2 separate regions of the Homo sapiens genome follow, and region 2 is linked to region 1. Evidence: promoter capture Hi-C in human tissues and cell types (Jung and others, 2019). All regions are on one chromosome and are shown on one strand. Each heading gives the region's core, a stretch centred on a gene start or on the middle of the fragment in contact. The rest is flanking DNA. Distances are from core to core; before and after follow the strand shown.

What was found. The method cuts DNA at HindIII sites, captures the fragments that hold promoters and counts their contacts. A contact is called where the count stands out against the background at its distance.
Region 2: a fragment that was not itself captured here is called in contact with the fragment with the promoter of SCYL1 in region 1 in 1 of the 25 tissues and cell types used here (stomach).

The regions. Positions count from the first base shown.
Region 1 is chr11:65,519,981-65,526,332 of GRCh38, reverse strand. It overlaps SCYL1 (SCY1 like pseudokinase 1), which reads right to left and starts at 1,250. Exons shown (of 18, transcript NM_020680.4): 1 at 1,069-1,250; 2 at 619-759; 3 at 290-412; 4 at 1-209. The coding sequence starts at 1,179. RefSeq lists a silencer at 903-1,402. The HindIII fragment of the contact is 17,278 bases long and covers 1-6,352 here.
Region 2 is chr11:65,767,624-65,773,975 of GRCh38, reverse strand. It overlaps AP5B1 (adaptor related protein complex 5 subunit beta 1), which reads left to right. Exons shown (of 2, transcript NM_138368.5): 2 at 1-78. Among named protein-coding and RNA genes, the nearest start is that of AP5B1, 10 kb to the left of the region's middle. The HindIII fragment of the contact is 6,006 bases long and covers 1-5,529 here.

The DNA of each region.
Region 1 (6,352 bases), core at 1-2,500:
CTGCCACTGCTGTCAGCCAACTCCGGGGGGTCATACTGCTCAAGCTCGGGGATCCCCTTGCGGGGAGGTCCCCCACCGTTGCCCTGGGCCGAATACATGTAGTCCAGGCCCCCAAGCTTCCACTCGCCAGCTCGGTCCACGAACACGGCGGCCATGCAGACATTGTTGTGGATGAGGCTGCAGTCGTTGACCAGGAAGCTGAGGGCTTTCTGGGGGCAAAAGGAGCCATCACGCCCCAGCACCTGCAACCCCCCATCCCTGCTCTCATCACCACTGCCCCCCACCTCACCACGATCTGGTGTAGCCCCCAGGAGATCTCCAGCTCCTTCAGGCCACCAGCCTCCACTCTCGCCTTGAGGTATATTCCCAACGGGGTCACAGCCTCTGTCACGACGTGGAGGCATTTTTCTGTCTGGGGAAGGGGACACAGGGTTATCAAGGGCGGAGGGGCAGAGAGGAAGGAGAGATAAGCGACTTGAAGTTGGGAGAGATGGGGAAGAGGAAACCAAATCTGGGGGTGCTGGGGCACATAGGGTGGAAACAGGGCAGGAGGGGAGACAGGAGTGGGTAACCAGGACATCGTGAGGGGCAGAGACGGGCAGGCAAGGCAGCAGGTACCTCCAGTCCATCGATGTAAGCCAGGATGTTGGGGTGCCGTAGAGTTTTGAAGCGCTTGAAGGCAGCTTTGGCCACCTGGGTCTGCTCTTCCGCGCCAGGCTTCACATCATAGACGAAGATGGACACGGGGCTGCCTGTGGCCTAGGGGAGGGCAGCGGGGCCTGAGATGGTCCCAGAGCTGTTGTGTGGCCGGAAGACAAGGGCCCGCAGCCAGGTCTCTCCCCAGGTCAGCCTTAGGGACACTTCGCCGGGCCCACGTGACCCCGGCCCTGTCCGCCTGTCGGTCCCTCGGTCCCTCCGCCCGCCACGTAGGCACTGCCCGCCCCCTCCCCGGCCTGCTACCCCTTGGTTCCGCCGCCACGTCAGGCCGGGCGCAACGCGACGGGGTCGGCGGCGCGGAATAGGCAAGGCCCAGGTCGACCGCGGCCTACGGAGCTCGGCCGCACTCACCTTCTTGCGGCCGCGGTGCAGGGCCCAGGGCCCGGGCAGGCCGCCCTCTGGGGGCTCCGGGATGAGCTCGAACGGAAAGTCCCGGACCGGGTCCCGGGCAAAGAACCACATCGTCCCCACCGCCGCCGCGGGTTCGGGCGCCTTAGCTCCGGGTCCTCCGGCCGCCCGAGCCGGGGCGGGGCGGAGAGGGGGCGGGGCCTGCGTCAGACGGGGGCGGGGCCCGGGGGCCAGGGCGGGGCCTACGTCGGGGCGGAGCAGGACGTGAATTGGGGCGGGGTGGGGCAGAACCTGAGTTGGGGCGGGAAGGGGCGGGGACAAGGGAGGGGCGGGAGAGGGGCGGGGATGGGGGGGCTAGGGAGGGGCGGGGATGGGGGGGCTAGGGAGGGGCGGGGATGGGGGGGCTAGGGAGGGGCGGGGCAGTCCGGGGCGGCGGGCGGTACTAAGATCAGTACTCCGCCGCCGGGTAAGTCACTTAAAACCCTCCAAGCCTGTGAGCCCTTTTATCTAAAGAGGCCTAAATCCTAAAGGATAATAGAGCCTGCCTTCTAGCGTACTGTAAGGATGAGAGCTTAAGAAGGGACAGAGGGATGGGGAAACCGAGGCAAAAAGGGGGAGAGGTAGAAAGACTGACAGGCATGAGAGGGTGCAGTGAGGAGTGAGGCAGAGACCCAGAGAGGGAGACTGGCCCCACGCCAGACACTCTCTCCCACCAGCAAGTGGGTGCCTCCAGGCTCCGGGGAGGAGTCGGTCCTGGTGAAGTGACCATGAGAGAAGCACGAGGAGACGCCCCAGAGAAAGAGCGTGGGTGAGAGGCAGAGAGTGAATCCAAGGTTCCAAGGAGGTCCAGAACCCCGGGGCAGGGGCGGGCACCCAGGGAATGGAGGAAGGAGAGACTGAGGAGGGAAGAAGAAGTGACCCCAGGAAAGGAGGGAGGGAGAAGGAGCAACTGGGCAGGTCTGGAAGAGGCCAAAGGGCTGGGAGGGGACCCTGCTCTCCTGGGCTCAGCTGCCCGGCTCTCAAGCCAACGGATTGCATCTCTCAGTGCCTGTGTAGACAGCCATGGAGTGGTGTTAGCTCAATCAGCACATCACACTGGTGGGGATCCAGCCCCTGAGCTGTGTAGGAGGGGCTGGACAGGCAGTGGTTCTTCTGCTGGTAGGGTCTCAGGACCCAGGCTTGGGGACAGTGCCTCAACCACAGCTATGGAGCACTGGTGAGATTCTGGGACTGGTTATGAAAAGTCTGGTTGGGATGCCTTTGGGAGATAACTCAAGGGCAGAGATGCCACAGTGAGACGGTGCTGGGTTTCAATCACGGTTCAGCCCCTCATTGGATGTGAGAACTCACACAGTTCCCTTTGGGTGCGTTAGGTCCCCCATCTATAAACTGGGGTGAGGGCCAGGCACAGTGGTTCACGCTTGTAATCTCAGCACTTTGGGAGGCCGAGGCTGGAGGATCACCTGAGGTCAGGAGTTCCAGGTCAGCCTGACCAACATGTTTGAAGGGGGCCTGCCCCTCCACACCTGTGGGTATTTCTCGTCAGGTGGAGACAAGAGACTGAGAAAAGAAATAAGACACAAAGTATAGAGAAAGAACAGTGGGCCCAGGGGACCGGCACACTCAGTATACGAGGACCTGCACCGGCGCTGGTCTCTCAGTTCCCTCAGTATTTACTGATTACTATTTTCACTATCTCTGCAAGGGGACTGCGGCAGAACAGGGTGATGGTGGGAAGAAGGTCAGCAGGAAAACATGTGAGTAAAGGAATCTGCATCATAAATAAGTTCAAGGGAAGGTACTGTGCCCGGATGTGCACGTAGGCTGGATTTATGTTTCTCTTTACCCAAACATCTCAGTGTAGCAAAGAGTAACAGAGCAGTATCACCGCTAGCATATCTCACCTCCAGCCATAGGGCAGTTTTCTCCTATCTCAGAATAGAATGACTGGTGGGCTTTACACCAAGACATTCCATTCCCAGGGACATACGGGAAACAGAGGCCTTCCTCTTATCTCAACCGCAAAGAGATCTTCCTCTTTTACTAATTCTCAGCACAGACCCTTTACGGGTGTCGGGCTGGGGGATGGTAAGGTCTTTCCCTTCCCACAAGGCCATATCAGGCTGTCTCAGTCGGGGAGACAATACCCAGGCTTTCTCGGGCAGAGGTCCCTGTGGCTTTGCACAGTGCATCATGTCCCTGGTTAATAGAGAATGGAGAATGGCGATGACTTTTACCAAGCATACTGCTTGCAAACATATAGTTAACAAGGCACATCCTGCACAGCCCTAAATCCCTTAAACCTTGATTCAATACAGCGCATGTTTCTGTGAGCACAGGGTTGGAACTAAAGTTACAGATTAACAGCATCTCAAAGCAGAAGAATTTTTCTTAGTACAGATCAAAACGGAGTTTCTTATGTCTTCTTTTTTTCTGCATAGACACAGTAACAGTCTGATCTCGCTTCCTTTCCCCCACATATGTGTGGGCGGAGGAATACCTAGGTGCGGAGGCAAGAGATTGAAGGCACAAACTGTTTCAGTATAAAAAAGAAAATAGTTAGAATAAGAATAGTCATAATACAAATTAGATATAGAGATGGTCATGAACAATTATCAATCATTGTTATAAGCATTATTAATCATTAGCTTTTAATATTACTCTTTGTTGCATTACTAATATAACCTAGGAATAACCGGCGGGTATAGGGTCAGGTGCTGAAGGGACATTGTGAGAAGTGACCTAGAAGGCAAGAGGTGAGCCTTCTGTCACGCCCGCATAAGGGCCTCTTGAGGGCTCTTTGGTCAAGCGGTAACGCCAGTGTCTGGGAAGGCACCCGTTACTTAGCAGACCGCGAAAGGGAGTCTCCTTTCCTTGGAGGAGTCAGGGGACACTCTGCTCCACCAGCTTCTTGTGGAAGGCTGGATATTATCCAGGCCTGCCCGCAGTCATCCAGAAGCCTAAACCCCTCCCTGTGGTGCTGTGCTTCAATGCTCACGCTCTTTGTCCACTTTCATGCTCCTCCCATACTCCTGGTTCGTCTTTGAAATTCGTAGTAGATAGAGGTAGAAGAAATAGTGAAAGTCTTAAAGTCTTTGATCTTTCTTATAAGAGCAGAGAAGAAAACGCTGACGTATGCTGCCTTCTCTCTCTGCTTCGGCTACCTAAAAGGGAAGGGCCCCCTATCCTGTAATCACCTGACCTGCTTCACCTTGTCAATCACTTAGAAGATTCACCCTCCTTACCCTGCCCCCTTGTCTTGTATACAATAAATATCAGCGAGCCCAGCCATTTGGGGCCACTACCGGTCTCCGCGTCTTGATGGTAGTGGTCCCTGGGGCCCAGCTGTTTTCTCTTTATCTCTTTGTCTTGTGTCTTTATTTATTACAATCTCTAGTCTCCACACAGGGGGAGAACACATGCTAAGCCCCGTAGGGCTGGACCCTACACATATGTTGAAACCCCGTCTCTACTAAAAACACAAAAATTAGCCAGGTGTGGTGGTGGGCACCTGTAATCCCAGCTACTGGGAAGGCTGAGGCAGGAGAATCGCTTGAATCTGGGAGGTGGAGGTTGCAGTGAGCCGAGATCGCACCACTGCACTCCAGCCTGGACGACAGAGCGAGACTCCATCTCAAAAAAAAAGTGGGAACTTGGATGGGCACGGTAGCTCACGCCTGTAATCCCAGCACTTTGGGAGGCCGAGGCGGATGGCTCACCTGAGGTCAGGAGTTCAAGACCAGCCTGGCCAACATGGTGAAACCCCGTCTCTACTAAAAATACAAAAATTAGCCAGGCGAGGCCAGGCGCAGTGGCTCACGCCTGTAATCCCAGCACTTTGGGAGGCCGAGGCGGGCGGATCACGAGGTCAGGAGATCGAGACCATCCTGGCTAACACAATGAAACCCCGTCTCTACTAAAAATACAAAAAAAATTAGCCGGGCGTGGTGGCAGGCGACTGTAGTCCCAGCTACTCCAGAGGCTGAGGCAGAAGAATGGCGTGAACCTGGGAGGCGGAGCTTGCAGTGAGCCAAGATCGCACCACTGCACTCCAGCCTGGGCAACAGAGCGAGACTCTGTCTCAAAAAAAAAAAAAAAAAAATTAGCCTGGCGTGGTGGCACATGCCTGTAATCCCAGCTACTCAGGAGGCTGAGGGAGAATTGCTTGAACCTGGGAGGCGGAGGTTGCAGTGAGCCAAGATTGCGCCATTGCACTCCAGCCTGGGGGACAAGAGTGAGACTTCGTCTCAAAAATAAATAAATAAATAAAATAATAAAATAAAATAGTGGGAACTTTAAGCTTAGCTAACAGGGATCCAAATTCTTCAAGAGAAAGTATTTGTTGTTCAGCCCACTGTAAGATATCAAGAGCTACTTGCTAATGGCCCACACTTATTTTGTTGATGACTTATCATAGGAAAACCTTTGGTGTTCTTTCTACTTTATCTTATATTATAACGCATGAAACAGAAAAGCTGCTGTAAACAATGCTGAATCTTATGTAACAGCCAAATTTAATTTTAGAAAGTATTTAAATTGTGCTCTGTCCTAGATCTAAATGTTGAGAATTTTAAAAAAAACAAACGTTTTAACATCTGCCAAAGCATGTAAGAATAACTTCAAGCTGCCGGGCTTGGTGGCTCACGCCTGTAATCCCACCACTTTGGAAGGCCGAGGTGGGTGGATCACGAGGTCAGGAGTTCGAGACCAGCCTGGCCAACGTACTGAAAGCCCGTCTCTACTAAAAATACAAAAATTAGCCGGGCGTGGTGGCATGCGCCTGTAATTCCAGCTACTCTGGAGGCTGAGGCAGGAGAATCGCTTGAACCCGGGAGGCGGAGGTTGCAGTGAGCCGAGATCACGCCACTGCACTCCAGCCTGGGACAGAGGGAGACTCCATCTCAAAAATAAAATAAAATAAAATAAACAATAATAACTCCAAAATTAACATTATTTTGACTTCCTATTATTGTCTTTCCAAAAAATGGCTCTGTGTTTTTTGTTTGTTTTGATTTTTACTTCTTTGTTTGGTTTGGTTTTTTTGTTTGTTTTGTTTTTAGCAAATATGATGCCTAAAAAGTAAACTGTTCAGGGTTCTGGCCTATTGTGGTCGGCAGAATACTAGCCCCTCAAAGATGTCCATGTCCTAACTCTCAGAACCTGTGAATATGGGCCAGGTGCAGTGGCTCACACCTGTAATCCCAGCACTTTGGGAGGCCAAGGCGGGCGGATCACATGAGGTCAAAAGTTTGAGATCAGCCTGGCCATCATGATGAAACCCCTTCTC
Region 2 (6,352 bases), core at 1,277-3,776, 250 kb before region 1:
GGTTAAGTCATGTAGAGCCCACCTTCATGCCCCGCCTCCCCTGCCCCCAACTTATGAATAAACTATGTTCTAACTGCACAAGGTTTTTTGTTTTTGGTTTTTTTTTCCCTGTAGCAGCTAAAAAGCTTAAAAACAAAACAAAACAAAAACCACTTTTTATTTTGTTTGTTTTGAGACGGAGTCTTACTCTGTCACCCAGGCTGGAGTGCAGTGGCGTGATCTTGGCTCACTTCAACCTCTGCCTCCTGGGTTCAAGTGATTCTCCTGCCTCAGCCTCCTGAGTAACTGGGATTACAGGTGTCCGCCACCACACCCGGCTAATTTTTGTATTTTTAGTAGAGATGGGGTTTCACCATATTGGCCAGGCTGGTCTTGAACTCCTGACCTCAGGTGATCTGCCCGCCTCAGCCTCCCAAAGTGTTGGGATTACAGGCGTGAGCCACCGCACCCGGTCCAAGCACTGGCTTTGAGATAAGCAATATTAAAAACATTTTCAGCTTCATCAGATGCTGACTAACTGACCTCCAACCACTGTTCCACCAGCCATAACTACAGCTTTGGTTGGACAAGTGACTGATTTCAGTAACTTTTTCCTGACAAGGTGACTACCCATCATGGACTGGTTCTGGCTGGCTTACAGAGCTCCTGCACTTGCATGTCTTTGTGTCCTGAAAAGACCTTTTGCCATATAGGGCCTAATTATAATACATTTAAATGTTAAGTCTCCACCCCAAAGTGACCATGGGTTGTATGTTGCATGCATGTTTGTTCAATATGCATGTGTCAGAACCACTTTCATGAATATTCATAGCTCCTCATGTAACCTGTTGAATGTGTATGTTTAGTCAATCCATTGAGCATGAAGCTCCTACCCTAACCCCTCCTTCTTTGAAGTGCCTGTCTCTGGTCTTGGCTGGAGACATGCTTCCCAGCAGGTCTCACTCCCTTTCTGAGGCTGGAGTGCAGTGGTGCGATCATAGCTCACTACAACCTCAAACTCCTGGGCAAAAGTGATCCTCCTGCCTCAGCCTCCGGGGTGGCTAAGACTACAGGTGCATGCCACCACACCTGGCTAATTTGTAAAATTTTTTGTAGAGATGGGTTCTTACTATGTTGTCCAGGCTGGTTAAGGCCTCCTGGGTTCAAGTGATCCTCCTGCCTTGGCCTCCCAAAGTGCTGGGATTATAGGTGTGAGCCACCAGGCCCAGCCTAACCCTTTATAAGAAATAAAGTCTCCTCTCAAAATTTATAAATTGTGTATCTTTTCTTTTTTTCGTTAACAATTATCAATAATACACTTTATATGAAACAAGGGAAAAGATGGGGAAAGATATCGGTTAATCTCTATTTTACATGCAAGGAAGAAAGTATGAATCTTTTGTGCAATGAGTTACGAGGCCCTAATTAGGGTTCCTAGGTTTAGCAAATAAAAATATTATATAGGATGTGCATTTAAGTTTGAATTTTGGAGAAGCAATGAATTTTTTAGTTGTTAATAGGACATACTTACACTAAAAAACCAGTAGTTGTTTCTCCAAGGTTCAGATATAAGTGGTGGGTTTTTTTTGTTGTTTTTGTTTTTTTCTTTTTTTTTTGAGACAGTCTTGCTCTGTTGCCCAGTCTGGAGTGCAGTGGTGTGATCTTGGCTTACTGCAACCTCTGCCTCCTGGGTTCAGCCTATTCTTGTGCCTCAACCTCCTGAGTAGCTGAGATAACAGGCATGTGCCACCACACCTGGCTAATTCTTGTATTTTTAGTAAAGACAAGGTTTTGCCATGATGGCCAGGCTGGTCTCCAACTCCTGGCCTCAAGTGATCCACCCGCCTCAGCCTCCCAAGGTGCTGGGGTTACAGGTGTGAGCCACTGTGCCCGGGCTATAACCAGTGTTAAATCTCGTTTAGCCTAAAGCTGCCTCCTTACATATTTTAAGTTTGGCCTAAAGGTTTCTCTGTACATCGTAAACTATAACCTAAATGGACTTGTAAACAGACTGTAGCCAACGCTTGTGGCAATCACTGAGTTTTGGCTAATCAAAGGTGGCCAACTGTTCAAACTGTGTTCAGATAAGACAAACACCAATCTGTAACCAATCTGGCTGGTTTCTATATCTCACGTGTGTTTTCTGTACTTCATTTTCCTTTCTGTCCATAAATCTTCCACCACGTGGCTGCACTGGAGTCTCTGAGCCCACTCTGGCATGAGAGGCTGCCTGATTCTTGAATTGTTCTTTGCTCAGTTAAACACTGTGAAACTTACCTGAGCTAAAGTTTTCCTTTTAACACTGAGCATCCTGTATTTTATCTGTTAACCCTGGATTGATATTTACAACTTCTTTCTTCCATACCCATTCTATGTTCCTTTGGTTCTTTTACTTCATGAGGTGACCCAAACTTCATTCCTGAAGGGTCTGAGTCCTTGGTTATTCTGCTTGTATTGAGTCACTTGAGGCTTTCATTAACACTGTCACTGAACCTGGCAATCCTCAGAGATATTTCAGGGGATCCCCTGGATACGATGGACTCCTTGTCTCCGTTGTATGGCAGCAACAGCTTCTCGGTGGACAGTCAGGGTCAGTCTTCCTCTTAGAGCTCTTGGTCCTGAGGCAAAGCGACAGCGGGGCAGCCTTTACTTCCGGTTCAAAAAAAGCTATGCAGTGTCCATTCCTGGCGGCATTCTCCCTTGGACACTGAGGCCTCTGAACCTTCAATGGAATGGGAAGACAATATTTTGTCAGAGGCTTTCAGGTAGGAGGACAATGGTAGCACTGTAGGTCCCCAGTGTCGCCTAGAAAAACAATATGGAATGAGGAGAAAAGATAAAATTATGCAACAGCAAGCCCTCAGGATAACTTGGAGACAAGAATGCTCAAACTTAAAAAGAACAAGAAAAACAAATAACATAGAAATTACCTGGCCGGGCGTGGTGACTCACGTTTGTAATCCCAGCACTTTGGGAGGTTGAGGTGGACAGATTCCTTGAGCCCAGGAGTTCGAAACTAGCCTGGGCAACATGGTGAAAACCTGTCTTTACAAAAAATACAAAAATTAGCTGGGTGTGGTTGTGTGCACCTGCAGTTCTAGCTACTTGGGAGGCTGAGATATGAGGATTATTTGAGCCTAGGAGGTCCAGGCTGTACTGAGCTTTGATTGCACCACTGCACTCCAGCCTGGGTGACAGAGTGAGACAAGAAAGAAAGAAAAAAGAAAGAAAGAGAAGAGAAGAAAAGAAAGAAAAAGGAAAAACAAATGGCAGCTCAGACTTTCCTTCCCACGCACCCATTCCAGCCCCACCTGCCACAAGACTGGCTGAGGAAAACTGGGGCAAAGGAGAGGAGGGAGTTGTAATGGGGCTTAAGCTTGATCTAAGACCTCACCAAAAACACTAAGTACACCTTGAGCCTGAAAATGTTCAAAAGTGTCTGCAGTAGTGTCAGAGCTGGGACAATAGGTGGGAGGTTTAAAAGTACACGTGAGGCCAGGCACGGTGGCTCACGCCTGTAATCCCAGCACTTTGGGAGGCCAAGACGGGTGGATCACCTGAGGTCAGGAGTTCGAGACCAGCCTGGCCAACATGGTGAAATCCCATCTCTACTAAAAATACAAAATTAGTCAGGTATGGTGGCATGTGCCTGTAGTCCCAGCTACTCAGGAGGCTAAGGCAGGAGAATCGCTTGAACCGAGGAGGTGGAGGTTGCAGTGAGCTGAGACTGTGCCACTGCACTCCAGCCTGGATGACAGAGCGAGACTTTGTCTCAAAAAAAAGTTATACGTGAAATGTGAAGCCACAGTCTTGGAAACACATAGATCCTTGGGGAGCAACTACCCACAAAAGAAAGGAAAAGTGTCCTTTGGCATTTGGGTGTGAAGAGAGAGGCAAATGGAGAAGTTTAATTGCCCTCCAAGACAAAAAAAAAAAGAAGGCCCACAACCCCCACCCCTGCAAAAACAAATTCACTAAAGCATCTGGACTTCACAATGTTGCCAGAAGAGGGCGTGTTATCTAGGGATCTTGTAAAACACCCAATACCACAAAAATGAATAATGAAAAGATAGGTTCATACAGCTATTGCAAAATATCAGAAAATGAATTTCATCACATATGAACCAAGGAAAATTCACACAAACCTCTGAAACAATAGCCATGAAGAAGAAGAAAGCTGTAATACAACACTAAACAGAACCAAATATATGCAAAACAAGCATTTGAAGACATGCAAAACCATTTTGGGTGGGAAATTTAAAAACAAAGAACAGAAATAGACAAAATAGAGGAAGAAATGAAAATAGATTTGGTTGAACTCAGGAAAGAAATGGAATAAACAGACAAAATTATCTAGAAGTAAAGATTAAATTACAAGATGCCCAAGGGAGAATAAATTCAAATAAAAATTTAATAAGGGGCATTGAAGGAATACAGGTAACCAAGCAAGAGAATGAAAATGAGATAAAGAAGTAGGCTGGGTCCAAAGAAAGTAATGGAAACAGAATATACTCAAAGAAGGAATCACATGTGTATTATTGGAGTCCCTGAAGAAAAAATAAACAAGTAAACCACAACTAATATTTAACACTGTAAGAAAACTGTCCAGGAGCAAAAACTCTGCACATTGGAAGAGCCCACTGGGAATGTGGGCAGATTCACTCAGTGTGATCAACTTTGAAACATATCCTAGTAAAACTCTAATTTCAAAGACTCTTTTTTTTTTTTTTTTTTTTTTTGAAACGGAGTCTCACTCTGTCAACCAGGCTGGAGTGCAGTGGCATGATCTTGGCTCACTGCAACCTCCACCTCCTGGATTCAAGTGATTGTCCTGCCTCAGCCTCCTGAGTAACTGGGATTACAGTCACCTGACACCACGCCCGGATAATTTTTGTATTTTTGGTAGAGACGAGGTTTCGCCATGTTGGCCAGGCTGGTCTGGAACTCCTGACGTCAGGTAATCTGCCCACCTCGGCCTCCCAAAGTACTGGGATTACAGGTGTGAGCCACTGTGCCCAGCCTCAAAGACTCTTTTAAAAAAACCCTCAAGGACTCCAGGCAAAAAGATCAAATAACTCACAAAGGCAAAATAATTAAATAATGAGAATGACAGCAGACTTTTTTTTTTTGAGACGGAGTCTCGCTCTGTTGCCCAGGCAGGAGTGCGATGGCGCGATCTCGGCTCACTGCAGGCTCCGCCTCCCAGGTTCACACCATTCTCCTGCCTCAGCCTCCCGAGTAGCTGGGACTACAGGTGCCCACCACCACACCCGGCTAATTTTTTGTATTTTTTTTTAGTAGAGACGGGGTTTCACCATGTTAGCCAGATGGTCTTGATCTCCTGACCTCATGATCCGCCGGCCTCCGACTCCCAAAGTGCTGGGATTACAGGCGTGAGCCACTGCGCCAGGCCAACAGCAGACTTTTTAAACCAGCATACAAAGCAAGACAGCAATGGAGCAGCAGGTTTTAGACATTACACCTTTACAAGTGTGAGCCAGGATTTTATATTCAGACAAACTATCCTTCAAGTATCATGATTATAGGAAACAATTTTCTGTTTTTCAGTAAGTACCTATGGAATTCTGCACCCATGAGCCAGTCTGATAGAGATGTGTTTCATCCACACCAAAGAGAACGATTATAAATACTATATATGGGCTGAGCATGGTGGCTCACACCTGTAATTCCAGCACTTTGGGAGGTCAAGGTAGGAAGATAGCTTGAGGCCAGGTGTTTGAGAACAGCCTGGGCAACATAGTGAGACCCTGTCTCTACAAAAATTAAAAAAAAAAAAAAGAAAAAACACAACAGCCAAGTGTGGTGGCGCATGCCTGAAGTCCTAGCTGCTCAGGAGGCTGAGGCAGGAGGATGGCAGCTTGAGCCCAGGAGTTCAAGGTTGCAGTAAGCCATGATCACACCACTGCACTCCAGCCTGGGTGACAGGGTGAGGCCTTGTCTCAAAAAAAAAAAAGAAAAAGAAGGCCGGGCACGGTGACTCATGCCTGTAATCCCAGCACTTTGGGAGGTCAAGGCGGGCAGATGACTTGAGGTCAGGAGTTTAAGACCAGCCTGCCCAACATGGTGAAACCCCGTCTCTACTAAAGATACAAAAATTAGCTGGGTGTTGTGGTGGGTGCCTATAATCCCAGCTACTCAGGAGGCTGAGGCAGGAGAATCACTTGAACCTGGAAGGTGGAGGTTGCAGTGACCCGAGATTGCGCTATTGCACTCCAGCCTGGGCGACAAGAGCGAGACTCCGTCTCAAAAGAAAAAAAAAAAACACGTTTTCCATGCCTTGGCAAATTGTCATACTCCTTCCTAAGTTTGGATCAACTTTCAACATCTTATCCTTTGTACTTCCAACGTTGTG